Linked DNA regions of Homo sapiens: region 2 is linked to region 1. The links are contacts of gene promoters, found by promoter capture Hi-C in blood cells and fetal thymus (Javierre and others, 2016). All regions are on one chromosome and are shown on one strand. The core of a region is centred on a gene start or on the middle of the fragment in contact, and the rest is flanking DNA. Distances in the headings are between cores, read along the strand shown. Region 1 holds the start of NPIPB15 (nuclear pore complex interacting protein family member B15). Region 2 overlaps RFWD3 (ring finger and WD repeat domain 3).

Region 1 (7,365 bases), core at 4,699-7,198:
GTGGTCTCGGTTCACTGCAACCTCTGCCTCCCAGGTTCAGGCGATTCTCCTACCTCAGCCTCCCCAGTAGCTGGGACTGTACAGGCGTGCGCCACCACGCTGGGCTAATTTTTGTATTTTTATTAGAGACAGGGTTTCACTATGTTGGCCAGGCTGGTCCCAAACTCCTGACCTCATGATCCGCCCACCTAGGCCTCCCAAAGTGCTGGAATTACAGGTGTGAGCCACCGCGTCCAGCCTATTTTTATTTTTTGAGATTAGCTCTCACTCTGTCACCCAGGCTGGAGCACAGTGGTGCAATCACGGCTCACTGCAGTCTTAACTTCCTGGGCTCTAGCGATTCTCCCACCTCAGCCTCCCGAATAGCTGAGACCTCAGGCGTGTTCCACCGTCCCCAGCTAACTTTTGTATTTTTTGGTAGAGGTGGGGTTTCACTATGTTGCTGAGGCTGGCATTAAACTCCTGACCTCAAGAGATCCACCTGCCTTGGCCTCCCAATGTGCTGGGATTAGAGGCATGAGCCACCACGTCCTGCCCTAAACAGACGTTTTAATTACGCTTGTCAAGTCCTCTTGTGAAATATTCATCTGCAGTGACTTGGTAAATGTGTTTGCTACCACACAGGATAAACAGTGTACAGACAAACATTTGACATACCTATGTTACCACAGTGTAAGAATGAATTTGGATCTGAGGTCGCTAAGATGCAGGCGTTTATCTTACCTCCCTCCAGCACCGGCATGGCTGTGGGGAAGGCCTCCCTCCTCCCTCTGAAGTTCTTGTCGCCATCAGTAGACTGGACATCTGCCTACAACCGACTTCACAGAAAGGACCTGACACCTGGCATGCTTCTCGTGTGCTTGAGAGCCTGTGTTTGTGTGGAAAGCAGGGATGTTCTCATTCACACCATGGGAAGAGAAGAATGTTGCGAGTAACAATCAGTACTTTTTTTTTTTTTTTTTTTTTTTGTGAGACAGAGTCTTGCTTTGTCACCCAGGCTGGAGTACGGTGGCGCGATCTTGGCTCACTGCAAGCTCTGCCTCCCGGGTTCACGCCATTCTCCTGCATCAGCCTCCCGAGCAGCTGGGACTACAGGCGCATGCCACCATGCCCAGCTAATTTTTGTATTTTTAGTAGAGACAGGGTTTCACCATGTTGGCCAGGATGGTCTCGATCTCTTGATCCACTGCGCCCAGCCAGGAACTTCTTTTTTTTTTTTGAGACGGAGTCTCACTGTGTCGCCAGGCTAGACTGCTGTAGTGCGATCTCGGCTCACTGCAACCTCCAACTCCCTGGTTCAAGGGATTCTCCTGCCTCTGCCTCCTGAGTAGCTGGGATTACAGGCGTGTGCCACCACACCCAGCTAAATTTTGTATTTTTAATAGAGATGGGGTTTCACTATGTTGGCCAGGATGGTCTCGATCTCCTGACCTTGTGATCCGCTCGCCTCGGCCTCCCAGAGTGTTGGGATTACAGGCATGAGCCACTACACCCGGCCTGGAACTTCTCTCTCTTTTTTTTTTTTTGAGACGGAGTCTCGCTCAGTCACCCAGGCTGGAGTGCAGTGGCACCATCTCGGCTCGCTGCAAGCTCCGTCTCCTGGGTTCATGCCATTCTCCTGCCTCAGCCTCCCGAGTAGCTGGGACTACAGGCGCCCACCACTATGCCCGGCTAATTTTTTTGTATTTTTAGTAGAGATGGGGTTTCACCGTGTTAGCCAGGATGGTCTCGATCTCCTGACCTCGTGATCTGCCTGCCTCAGCCTCCCAAAGTGCTGGGATTACAGGCGTGGGCCGCGGCACCCGGCCCAGGAACTTCTCTTATATCTAGAAGCCACCGGATGTTAACTAAGAGTCCTGGGAAGAAATGGTAGTCATTTAAAGCTTTTTTAAGAGGGAAGACTTGCACTGGGTCTTAATGAAAATACATAGGACAAAATTTTTCCTTCTGTATCAGCTCACGTAATCTTTCTGGCAATCTCATGAAGTAAATTTTAGCAGATAGAGTAGACACAGATGTAACATGACTTTTCCAAGATCACACACCTAGGAGGAAGGACCAGAAATGGAGCTCTTCCCATGTTGAATATCTGAATCTAATGATCTTTGCACTATGCCATAGGACAGGTGGCCAGGAAAGCATCTGAGACTGGGTGATGTAAGGGCTGGATACAGAGACAGAAAAAAGCAGGCAGTGTAACAGGAAGGAACGCAGCTAGCTATGGTAGATGGGATGTTGTTTTCAATTCCTCATTCCCTATTGCCATGTGACCTTGCAGTGCACGAAATGGGGGGAGTAGGATTCCTGTCCCACTGATGTTGGTTGGCTTCAGTCAAACATTATTATTATTATTTTGAGATGGAGTCTTGCTCTGTCGCTAGGCTGGAGTGCAGTGGCACGATCTCGGCTCACTGCAACCTCTGCCTCCTGGGTTCAAGCAATTCTTCTGCCTCAGCCTCCCGATTAGCTGGTACTACAGGAGCACGCCACCACACCCAGCTAATTTTTGTATATATAAATTTTTTTTAGTTGAGACAGGGTTTCACCATGTTGGCCAGGATGGCCTCAATCTCTTGACCTTGTGATCCGCCCGCCTTGGCCTCCCAACGTGCTGGGATTACAGGCGTGAGCCATTGCACCTGGCCAACCAAACTTATTTTTTAAGGTGGGTAGAAGCCATAGTGTACAGATCTGGAGATTGGCCTTAAGAGGTGTTGAGCATGTCATCAGCCCTTGTCACAAGTTTATGCCCTGAGTAGCTGTTGGATCATGGAAAGTGAAAGGCACTTGAAACAGACCTGAACTCAGCCTGAAGCCAAGCCTGCTGACCCTCAGCCTGAAACAAAGCTGTCCAAGCCTGCTGACCCTCAGTTTGAAACAAAGCTGTCCAAGCCTACTGACTCTCAGTTTGAAACACAGCTGTCCAGCTAGACCATAGTCACCTACAGTCTCATGAGCATGGCACTGAATGCTTTGTTGTAAGGCACTGAGTTTTGGGCTGGTTTACTAGGTAGCCTTTTTTGCAGCTCAAATAAAGGCTGTCTGATAGTGCAATTATATAAGAATGGTGAAATCAGGGCCTACGCCTTCTTAAGGAAATCTTCACTCACTGCAGTCTTGCAAGTCAATGGTCTTATTCTGCTTATCCAACTAATTCTGGAGCAGCTACATCTGGGAACCCCGTAGGCTCACGTCTACAACAGTGTCTTCATCCTGTCTTCTCAATCAGCCCCTTCTATTTCCAGTTCCAGGAATGGCCAACCACACCAGAAACCTGGGACTCACCTGGTCTCCCCACTCGCCTCTCCCTCCACCTCCTGCTCATCACCCAGCCTCAAAGGGTCTGTCTCCTCAGTGCCTCTCCTCTGTTCGGACCTCTCTGTCCCTACCACCGCTGCTGTGGTTGAGAGGGTTGTCAGCCCTGACTTCGAGAACAATCTTTTTTTTTTTTTGAGATGGAGCCTCAGTCTGTCGCCCAGGCTGGAGTGCAGTGGTGCGATCTTGGCTCACTGCAACCTCCGCCTCCCGGGTTGAAGTGATTCTCCTGCCTCAGCCTCCTGAGTAGCTGGGATTACAGGCATGCACCACCATGCCCCGCTAATTTTTGTATGTTTAGTAGAGACTGGGTTTCACCATATTGGTCAGGCTGGTCTCGAACTCCAAACCTTGTGATCCGCCCGCCTCTGAGATCAGAACTGAGATCACGCCACTGCATTCCAACCTGGGCAACAAGAGCTAACTCTGTCTCAAAAAAAAAAAAAAAAGTTTTTAAAGACAGGGTCTCGCTATGTTGCCCATGCTGGTCTTGAATTCCTGGGGTCAAGTGATGCTTCTGCTTTAGCCTCCCAAGGAGCTGGAATCATGGGTGCCCACCACCATGCTCGGCTACTATTTTCTTCAAAATTCAAATATTCTAGCTTAACAGTACCTATTAGATAAATAAATGGCAATTTTCTGGAACATTCTTTTTTTGGTTTTGTTTTGGTTTTTTTTTTTTTTTTTTTTTTTTGAAACGGAGTCTCCCTCTGTCGCCCAGGCTGGAGTGCAGTGGCGCAATCTCGGCTCACTGCCAGCTCCGCTTCCCGAGTTCACGCCATTCTCCTGCCTCAGCCTGCCGAGTAGCTACGACTACAGGTGCCTGCTACCACGCCCGGCTAATTTTTCTGTAGTTTTAGTAGAGACGGGGTTTCACCGTGTTAGCCAGGATGGTCTCGATCTCCTGACCTCGTGATCCACCCGCCTCGGCCTCCCAAAGTGCTGGGATTACAGGCTTGAGCCGTGGCACCCGGCCCAGGAACTTCTCTTATATCTAGAAGCCAGGCTTGGTGACTCTACTTGCTCACCAGATGATCCTACACCTGCCACCTCCGATGGATCCACTGCCTCTGTGCCTGCCTGTACTGCTGATGCTCCAGTGGATAACTCAGCATCCCAGCCTAGGCCCAATGCCACTGAAGATGGACCTGCCCCCTGGAGACCCAGGAGTTCTACCACTCAGCTGTCCCCAGAAGTGCCCAGACCCTCATTCTTATCCAGGACCTAGGAGCCCTACCCCCTGGCCTTCCGTCATCAGCCGTAAATGATGATTTACTGCTGTTACCATCATCACTGCATTTAGTAACCAAGGGCCTTCCAAGGTGCCAGCTCTGGAACGAAGGATGCCTTTGGGAGGTGATGACACTCAGGTACACGGGTGCTCAACAGATTGCTTCCTCCTATCCTCAGATGGTCTTTGCATGCATGCAGCCATTGGCACTCCCATTGTACGCAAGGAAACCAGCCCAGGGTCACACAGCTGGTCAGCAGCAACACAGCTGGTCTCAAATCTAAGGTGCCTGGCCATGCCTCCATGAGGGACCGCCTGCAAGGGAGGTTGATCCTGGCTTTGGGGAGCCTTTCCTGGGCTGCACGAGTAACCTCCAATGTTTGAGGCCCCAAACTCTGCTCACATCTTCCTTTCCCTGTCTCTGCTTGGGCTATGATCACGGTGACTCTAGCAACCCTTCATGGACATTATAGTACTCTCTGCCATTCACTTTTGGTCTAATCTGACTTCAACCCCCACTTACTTGGTCTCTCCTTTTACAACCAACACAACCGAAATCCGAGGGCTTCTTTTTTTTTGAGACAGAGTCTCATTCCATTCTGTCACCCAGGCTGGAGTGCAATGGCACGATCTCGGCTCACTGCAACCTCCACCTCCTGGGTTCAAGGGATTGTCCTGCCTCAGCCTCCTGAGTAGCTGGGATTACAGGCGGGTGCCACCGTGCCTGGCTAATTTTTGTATTTTTAGTAGAGACGGGGTTTCACCATGTTGGTCAGGCTGATCTCGAACTCCTAACCTCGTGATCCGCCTGCCTCAGCCTCCCAAAGTGCTGGGATTACAGGCGTGAGCCACCATGCCCAGCCAAATCTAGGGCTGGAACATGGCTGCAGCATATAAATAGAATTGAATTCCATAGTTTTGTTAACCCTGTTTTTTGTTTGTTTGTAGTTGTTGCTGTTTTTGAGACTGAGTCTCGCTCTGTCGCCTAGGCTGGAGTGCAGTGGTGCAATCTCGGCTCACTGCAGACTCTGCCTCCCGGGTTCAAACTATTCTCCTGCCTCAGCCTCCCAAGTAGGTGGGACTAAGGCGCCCACCACCACACCCGGCTAATTTTTGTATTTTATTAGAGACAGGGTTTCACCATATTGGCCAGGCTGGTCTGGAACTCCTGACCTTGTGATCCACCCACCTCGGCCTCCCAAAGTGCTGGGATTACAGGCGTGAGCCACCACACCCAGCCCCTGTTTTGTTTTTGTTTTGCTTGTTTCTTAGGGTTGTTTTTCTATTTATGGTAAAGGCATTGGCTTTCCATTTGTAGCATCAATAGAATATTTCCTGTTTACAATAACCTTATGTCATAGTAAATGGTAAAGGGATTTAAAGCAGTGGTTTTCAGCTGCCAGAGGCCTGAGTGAGTTTGGGCACACTCTGTGTGATCGGGCAGAAGGCCTGTGGGAAGTTCAGCTGAGGACAGGGCCAGGAAAGGTGATGGACAGTGGGGGTCTGTCCTGGTCACCAGACCCCTGGGTCCTGCCCACCTGCTTGGAGCTCCCCACCCATCACACATGATGCTGCCAAGCCCTCTGGGTATTGTGGGCAAATACCTTAGGAGAGAAGCTGATGAACTTTGTTTCTTGAAATGCACAGATTCCTTGGACGTCCCTGAGAGGTCAATGATGAAGGTCAACTTGGTTTTCTCCCCCTCATTTGGGTTCAGAATTTAAAGTCCACACACACAGGCAGTAAGATGATTATAGATAAGGACATCATCACTCGGTTTCAGATGTTAAAATGTCTAGGTGGGTTAGGGGTGATTTGAGATCACACAACCTTGTGCCACAAAGAGGAATTCCCAGGCCAGGGGGAGACATTTTATTGCCATGTTATGATCTCATCATTGAGTTGAAAGGCAATCTTGTTTCATTTTGGATTCTTTCTTATGTTTATGTCTTATAAGGGCACTTTGAATTTCCAAGCAAATAATAATTTTGAATTAGCTTTTAATCATTGACTTCTAGCACAGTTATATGATCAGAAACATGCTGTGTGATTTGATTGCTCTCAAATATATTGAGATTTGCTGGAACAAAATAAGTCAGGTTAATTTTTGTAAATGTACCATGCATGCTTAAAATGAATGTATCTACATTTGTTCCTGAGATACAGGTTGATGGACGGATGGCTACATGGATGTGATGGAGATGGTTTACTATCGGGACCTTCCGCATCCTGCTGATGTTTTGTTGCTTAGGATATGAATGGCTGAGCGGAGGCTGTAAAACCTGGCACTCTGCTTGGGTATGAAGTTCTTCCTGCCATCCTGCCATCATTTGTTTTTTATGTTTTGTCGCCAAAAGTGACCTTGAGGAACCCTGGGAGCTCAGGAAGGAAGGAGAGCCCAGAAGCAGGGACAGGGAGCTGGTTGGGGAGGACCAGAAATCAGGTTTGTGAAGGTTCCAGAGAGGACCTGTCCTTGCGAGGAGTGTGGGAGACTGAGATGGGGGAGGGGTCATTGGAATGATGCGGGCGCTACTTGGCATTGTCCATTGTGAGGCACCACCGGGGTCATCAGGGATTGGTGGAGAGGGAGTATAAAGCCCCAGGGTTGCTAAGGGAGGGCCCAGACCGAAGAAGGTTTGGTGGATAGCAGAACCTTTTTGTCTCCCTCTAATTGCTCCTAAGCCTCACGCTCCCTTGCCCCACGTGTCCTGTTGCTTCCCTGATCTTCTCCGTGACCTGTAGCTAAACCTTCCACCAGCGCTTGAGAACTTAATTTGAACCGGATCCTTTCCCAGACCCCTTTCTTCTCCTCCTCCTCC
Region 2 (7,365 bases), core at 3,014-5,513, 270 kb after region 1:
ACAAGAGCAAAACTCCGTCTCCAAAAAAAAAAAAAAAAAAAAAAAAAACCAAAGAAACCAAAAACCAAAACAAAACTTTCTATATCATACTATGTATAATTTACAAATACATATATAGCTAATCAAATACATAATAACTCTTGGGAATGCTGAACACCTAATTCATGAAAGTAGTTCTCTATGGAATTAAGAACTTAGTTCACAGGAAGACTTCTAGTGTACCTTTTTAAATTTGACACAGAGTCTTGCTCTGTTGCCCAGGCTGGAGTGCAGTGGCGCAATCTCAGCTTACAGTAACCTCCGCCTCCCAGGTTCAAGCGATTCTCGTGCCTCAGCCTCCCGAGTTGCTGGCATTACAGGCACGCACCACCACATCCGGATAATTTTTTGTATTTTTAGTAAAGATGGGGTTTTGCCATGCTGCTCAGGCTGGTCTCAAACTCCTGAGCTCAGGCGATCTGCCTGCCTCAGCCTCCCAGAGTGCTAGGATTTCAGGTGTGAGCCACTGTGCCTGGCCCTTCTACTGAATCTATAATTAACTTCTTCTTCTTTAAAATTTTCTTTCCTTTTTTTCCTTCTTGACCTGGTCAACAGATTTATCTTTATTTTTTTGAGACAGGTTCTTACTCTGTCACCCAGGCTAGAGTGCAGTGGCATGACCATAGCTCACTGCAGCCACAACCTCCTGGGCTCAAGAAATCCTCTCTCCTGAGTAGCTGAGACTACAGGTGTGTACCACTACACACGGATAATTTTTTTCATTTTTATTAGAAACAAGGTCTCACAATGTTGCCCATGCTGCTCTCAAACTCCTGGTCTCAAGCAATCCTCCTGCCTCGGCCTTCCAAAGTGCTGGGATTACAGGCATGAGCCACTACACCCAGCCTATTTATTTTCAAAAAGGCTCAAAGCAATATGGCAAAACATTAAGATTTGATAAAATTGGGTAAAAGGCTGTTCGTTTTATTAGTCTGTATCGGCATTTTGAAACTCTTCACTTTTTCTAATGAGGCTGGAGAGTATACTAATTCCTTATTGTAATCAGTGAATTGTTTTTAAATATAATCACCCATTACAGCCACACGTATAGATTTTGCCTTTTCAACAAAATTCCTCTCTGTACACATCTTCCATTATTTAAAAACGCTACAAGTGAGCATTGGTTGGACCAAATGAGTAAAAACAAGGAAGAAAACTAAAATAATCTGTACAGTGACTACCTATAGAGCTTTTTTTCTTTCTTTTAAAAAAAATTTTAAATACAGATAGGATCTATGTTGGCCAGGTTGGTCTTGAACTCCTGGTCTTAAGCAATCCTTTTGCCTTGGCCTCCCAAAGTGCTGGGATTACAAGAGTGAGCCACCGCACCAGCCTTACTTTTTTTCTAGTTCACAAAAATGCAATCATACTAATAACATGCTTCCACAGGACAACATATGCACATTTCAACATTGTATTCTGTTCATGCATACACCACCGTTCATTCAACTAAGCAATCCCCTTGCCTTAGATTTTTAACAATGCTAAATGAAGTTTCATTAAGTAAATCTTGGTACACAGCCTTCAATGTTTCTTTAGAATGCCTGAACAATTACTAGATCAAAGGCTTTAGAGACACATTTCCAAGGATGTCTCAAAATGATTTTGCCTGTGTACATCCAAACCAGTAAAGTGTGAACCCATGTCACTGTACCTCTCTCTCAATGGTGTGTATGTTCTTTAATATTTTTGAAGCATATACTGAGTGGTGTTACTAGCAACTGTTTTTTTTTTTTTTTTTTTTTTTTGAGACGGAGTCTTGCTCTGTCGCCCAGGCTGGAGTGCAGTGGTGCAATTTCGGCTCACTGCAAGCTCTGCCTCACGGGTTCACGCCATTCTCCTGTCTCAGCCTCCTCAGTAGCTGGGATTACAGGCGTCCGCCACTATGCCCGGCTAATTTTTTTGTATTTTTTAGTAGAGACGGGGTTTCACCGTGTTAGCCAGGATGGTCTTGATCTCCTGACCTTGTGATCTGCCCACCTTGGCCTCCCAAAGTGCTGGGATTACAGGCGTGAGCCACCATGCCCGGCCCTAGCAACTGTTTTGTGCTTCCGAAATCCTGGTAATTTTTTACATTGCACTGCATGTGCAAAGCTTCACTTATGAGTTTTCTGTATGGAGAACTGCTGTGGCGGGGGGTGGTCAGGGATATGAGAAGCAAAAATGGCAACAGAAGTAATGTGCCAGATCCTTGTGTTTAATGCTCTACATAAGGCAAACGATGCAGACTTCCTTAAGAAGATGATCAGACATGAATTATAAATAACAGTGTAAGACAGACTGCCAATGATCCCCAGAGATCCCAAGTCACAGGTCAAGTAAAACCTCACTACGAGTGACTCATAACTTCTTTTTCAGATGTGCCTACAATGAACCAAAAGGGAACATTCCAGCCAGGCATACTCTTACCACCTACCTTTTCATGCGCTCCTGTTCACTAGTGTCCAAAGCTCTCAGGGTTCGGGCATAAAGGACGACAATGTCACTGTGCCTGGCTTTCTTGTTGCACTAAAGAACCCAATAGGACATAATTAGAGTGGTTCTAGGAATCTGCCTGACTTAACATGTTAATGTGTCCTTACCTATGGTCCTTACCTGGGGACATTTTCGTACTTGTCCTTTAAGCCACGTGGAAATGCACCTATACCCAAAGAGATGCCCACAGCGTAATGCTGAGAGCCGGTGGTCCCCAGCATTGGTCCACTGTTCCAGACATATTGTACAAGTGTCCCCTTCTTCCTCATCCATAGAAGCAGAAGGTAGCAGAGGCTCAGACTTCTGGGGAGATGGCTAGATGGAAAGCAGAATATATTCAAATTAGAGAAAATGTAAAATCAATCTTGAAGAAGATGTGCAACTAAGAAATTAACAGAAGTGCAAAAAAAATGATACAATCAAAAGGGCTACAGAACACTTGTAACACCTATGAATCACTTGTCATTCTTTCTAGAATGCAATGTCACAAAATATAAGCTATGAAAACTATACTACTCTTAAATCTTATAAAATTCTTGGATACTTTTTCCTTCACTCAAAGGAAGAAAAGCAGCTATCCATATAAAGAATAGCAGCTATAAAATATTTAACTCATGTGTACCAGAGGGCAAAAAAAGAAAACAAAGGATACAAATGCTTACAAGAAAACACAATGGTCAATAAGTGTTTGCTTATAATTAAAGAAATGCAAATTAAAGAGACCATTTTTCATCTATCAGACTGGTATAAATTGATGTCTGATGACACCAAGCACTGTTGTGGGTAAATGAGATATGGACATGCTTATATACTGTTGCCTTAAATGTAAAGTGGCACACATTTCTGGAGCACCATTTGGCATTATCCATGAAAATTAAAACACATATATCTTTCCTTTGGCATAGCAATCTCTCTGCTAGAGATACCTCATGGATATATAGTCATGCATTGCTTGACAATGGGAATACATTCTGAGAAATGCGTCTTTAGGCGATTTCGTCATTGAATGATCCCAGAGGTACTTAAATAAACCTAGACGGTGTAAACTATTACATACTTAGACAACAAACCTGTATAGGATGTTACTGTACCAAATACTGTAGGCAACTGTAGCACAGTGGTGGGTTTCACCATGTTGGCCGGGCTGGTCCCGAACTCCTGACCTCAAGTGATCCGCCCGCCTTGGTCTCCCAAAGTGCTGGGATTATAAGTGTGAGCCACTGCGCCCAGCCTGGTATTATCATCTAATGGGACAACCATCATACATGTGGTCTGTCATAGACTGAACTATTATGCAGCCCATGATCATAGTCACAAATATTTTCTTTTTTTTTTTTTTTTTTTTTTTTTGAGACAGACTCTCGCTCTGTCGCCCAGGCTGGAGTGTAGCGGCAGAATCTCGGCTCACTGCAAGTTCCGCCTCCTGGGTTCACACCATTCTCTTGCCTCAGCCTCCTGAGTAGCTGGGACTACAGGCGCCTGCCACCAAGCCCGATTTTGTGTATTTTTAGTAGAGACGGGGTTTCACCGTGTTAGTTAGGATGGTCTCGATCTCCTGACCTCGCGATCCGTCCGCCTTGGCCTCCCAAAGTGCAGGGATTACAGACGTGAGCCACCATGCCCAGCCAGTCACAAATATATTCTAAGATAATTATATAAGATTGTTCCAAGCAGGCCAGGTGTAGTAATCACACCTACAGTCCCAGCTTATTGGGAGGCCAAGGCAGGAGGATTCCTTGAGCTCAGGAGTTTGAAACCAGACTGGACAACATAGCAAGACCTTGTCCCTGTTAAAAATTTAAAAAATTAGCCATGTGTGGTGGCACATGCCTGCAGTCCCAAGTAGTCAGGAGGCTGAGGTAGAAGCATCACCTGAGCCCGGGATATTGAGGCTGCAGTGAGCTATGATTGTGCCACTGCACTCCAGCATGAGGGACAGAATGAGACCCTGTCTCAAAAAAGTTCAGTGTAGCATGATTTATATAAAGAAAAAAAATATTATTACCCTCCCAAGTAGTTGAGACAACACAGGCGTGTGCCACCATACACCAACCATGCTTTACATGATAAGAAAAAGAATTAATTCGCTGGGCGCAGTGGCTCACACCTGTAATCCTAGCACTTTGGGAGGCCAAGGCAGGCGGATCATGAAGTCAGGAGATCGAGACCATCCTGGCTGACATGGTGAAACCTCGTCTCTACTAAAATACAAAAAATTAGCCAGGCATGACGGCGTGTGCCTGTAGTTCCAGCTACTCGGGAGACTGAGGCAGGGGAATCGCTTGAACTCAGGAGGTGGAAAGAAAAGAATTAACTCAAAATTTATTTGTATGATGGAATGCCACGTAGCTATTAATAAGAACAAGATGAGACCAGGCATGGTGGCTCACGCCTGTAATCCCAGCACTTTGGGAGCCCGAAGCGGGCGGATCACCAGGTCAGGAGATCAAGACCATCCTGGCTAACACGGTGAAACCCCGTCTCAACAACAACAACAACAACAACAACAACAACAAAATTAGCCAGGTGTGGTGGCAGGCGCCTGTAGTCCCAGCTACCGGGAGGCTGAGGCAGGAGAATGGTGTGAACCTGGGAGGCGGAGCCTGCAGTGAGCCGAGATCATGCCACTGCACTCCAGCCTGGGTGACAGAGCGACACTCGTCTCAAAAAAAAAAAAAGATTCAATTTTATGTACTGATAACAGAAAGCTCTCCAAGATGTACTAAGCTGGGAAAAATGAGCCAGACTCAAATAAAAACACAAAGAGCACATAGAAATATGCAAAAAATGTTAAATGATGTTTTGACATTGGAAGAATTCACAGCAGATGTAAATTACTCATACTGAGGACAATGATGTATAGGTGTTATTTTTATTTTTTTTTTGACATGGAGTCTTGGTCTGTTACCCAGGCTGGAGTGCAATGGCACAATCTCGGCTCACCACAACCTCCGCCTCTCAGATTCAAGTGACTCTCCTGCCTCAGCTTCCCGAGTAGCTGGGACTATAGGCACGCACCACCATATCCGGCTAATTTTTGTATTTTTAGTAGAGATGGGGTTTCACCCTGTTGGCCAGGCTGGTCTCAAACTCCTGTGCTCAGGTGACTCACCCACCTTGACTTCCCACAGTGCTGGGATTACAGGTGTGAGCCACTGCGCCCGGCCAACATTATTATTACTATTCTTTGAGATGAAGTCGTGCTCCGTCTCCCAAGCTAGAGCGCAGTGACGCTATTTGGGCTCACTGCAACTTCTGCCTCCCAGGTTCAAGCGATTCTCCTATCTCAGCCTCCTGAGTAGCTGGGATTATATGCGCCTGCCAACATACCCAGCTAATCTTTGCATTTTTACTAGGGATGGGGTTTCGCCATGTTGGCCAGGCTGGTCTTGAACTCCTGACCTCAGGTGATCCGCCCGCCTTGGCCTCCAACAGTGCTGGGATTATAGGCATGGGCCACCGCGCCCAGCCCATTATTTTTAAAAATAAAAATTATCACCTACTAACCATATTCTGCCTGATTTTTTTTTAATTTTAATTTTTTTATTGAGACAGGGTCTCACTCTGCTGCCATGGAGTGCAGTGGTGCAATCATGGCTCACTGAAGCCTTGACCTCCCAGGCTCAAGTAATCCTGTCTCAGACTCCCTAAGTAGCTAGGACTATAGGCGCATGCCACCACACCTGGCGAATGTGCTTAATAATTTATAAAGCACATTTATGTCTATTTTTTCAACTGATACTTAACCTTGTTGGCTAGACAGGACAGGTTATCCTCAATACTCCTCCCTCCCCATTTTTAAATCTAAGAGACAGCAGTCACACAAATAATGAGTAACTGGGATAGGATCCACACCTGGACCTCTTGCCTACAAAGCCTGCAAGCTTCCCATTTTAACCTGCAGCCCCACTTTGGTTAGAGACTAGGTTTCACCATGTTGGCCAGGCTGGTCTCAAACTCCCTACTTCAGGTGATCCACCCGCCTTGGCCTCCCAAAGTGCTGGGATTACAGGTGTAAGCCACCGTGCCCAGCCAAAAACCCAAACCTTTTATTTAAAAGGATATTCAGAGGCCAGGAACGGTGGCTCACACCTATAATCCCAGCACTTTGGGAGGCCGAGGTGGGTGGATCACAAGGTCAGGAGTTTGAGACCAGCCTGGCCAGTATGGTGAAACCCCGTCTCTAACTTAAAAGACAAAAATTAGCTGGGCGGGGTGGCGTGTGCCTGTAGTCCCAGCTGCTCGGGAGGCTGAGGTAGGAGAATTGCTTAAACACGGGAGGCAGAGGTTATTGTGGTGAGCTGAGATCGCACCACCGCACTCCACCCTGGGCAACAGAGTGAGACTCCGTCTCAAAAAAAAAGAAAAAAAAGGGGATATTCAGGTTGGGCATGGTGGCTCATGACTACAATCTCAATGGTTTGGGAGGCCGAGGCAGGACGATACCTTGAGCCCAGGAGTTCGAAACCAACTGGGTAATATAGTGAGACTCTGTCTACAAAAAATAAAAAATGTAGCCGAGTGTGGTGGCATTACCTGTAGTTCCAGCTATTCAGGAGGCTGAAGTGGGAGGATCCTTTGAGCCCAGGAGTTTGAAACTGCAGTGAGTTATGACTGCACCACTGCACTCTAGCCTGGGTGAGAGTGAGACCTAGTCTCTAAAAATAAATAAATAAATAAATAGATTTTTTTAAAATGATGTTCATATTACCTGTTTGGGGAGGGTCTTGCCTCCATCGATACATGTAACTTCTTGCTCTGCTGAGACACCTGCTAGTTGCTCTGCCAAGTCATTTCCAGAAATGACAGGAGAGGTAAAATACAAAATAAGATATGTCAGGTATGAGAAGC

The links. Contacts are between HindIII fragments. The CHiCAGO score rates a contact against its expected background, and 5 or more counts as called.
Region 2: a contact is called between a fragment that was not itself captured here and the fragment with the promoter of NPIPB15 in region 1, in 1 of 17 cell types (total CD8 T cells). The highest score is 5.8, in total CD8 T cells.

What each region holds. Positions count from the first base shown.
Region 1 is chr16:74,370,358-74,377,722 of GRCh38, forward strand. NPIPB15 (nuclear pore complex interacting protein family member B15) reads left to right here and starts at 5,949. Exons shown (of 8, transcript NM_001306094.2): 1 at 5,949-6,989. The HindIII fragment of the contact is 9,807 bases long and covers 1,882-7,365 here.
Region 2 is chr16:74,641,907-74,649,271 of GRCh38, forward strand. It overlaps RFWD3 (ring finger and WD repeat domain 3), which reads right to left. Exons shown (of 13, transcript NM_018124.4): 4 at 7,226-7,296; 5 at 2,635-2,829; 6 at 2,456-2,547. Among named protein-coding and RNA genes, the nearest start is that of RFWD3, 21 kb to the right of the region's middle. The HindIII fragment of the contact is 4,265 bases long and covers 2,132-6,396 here.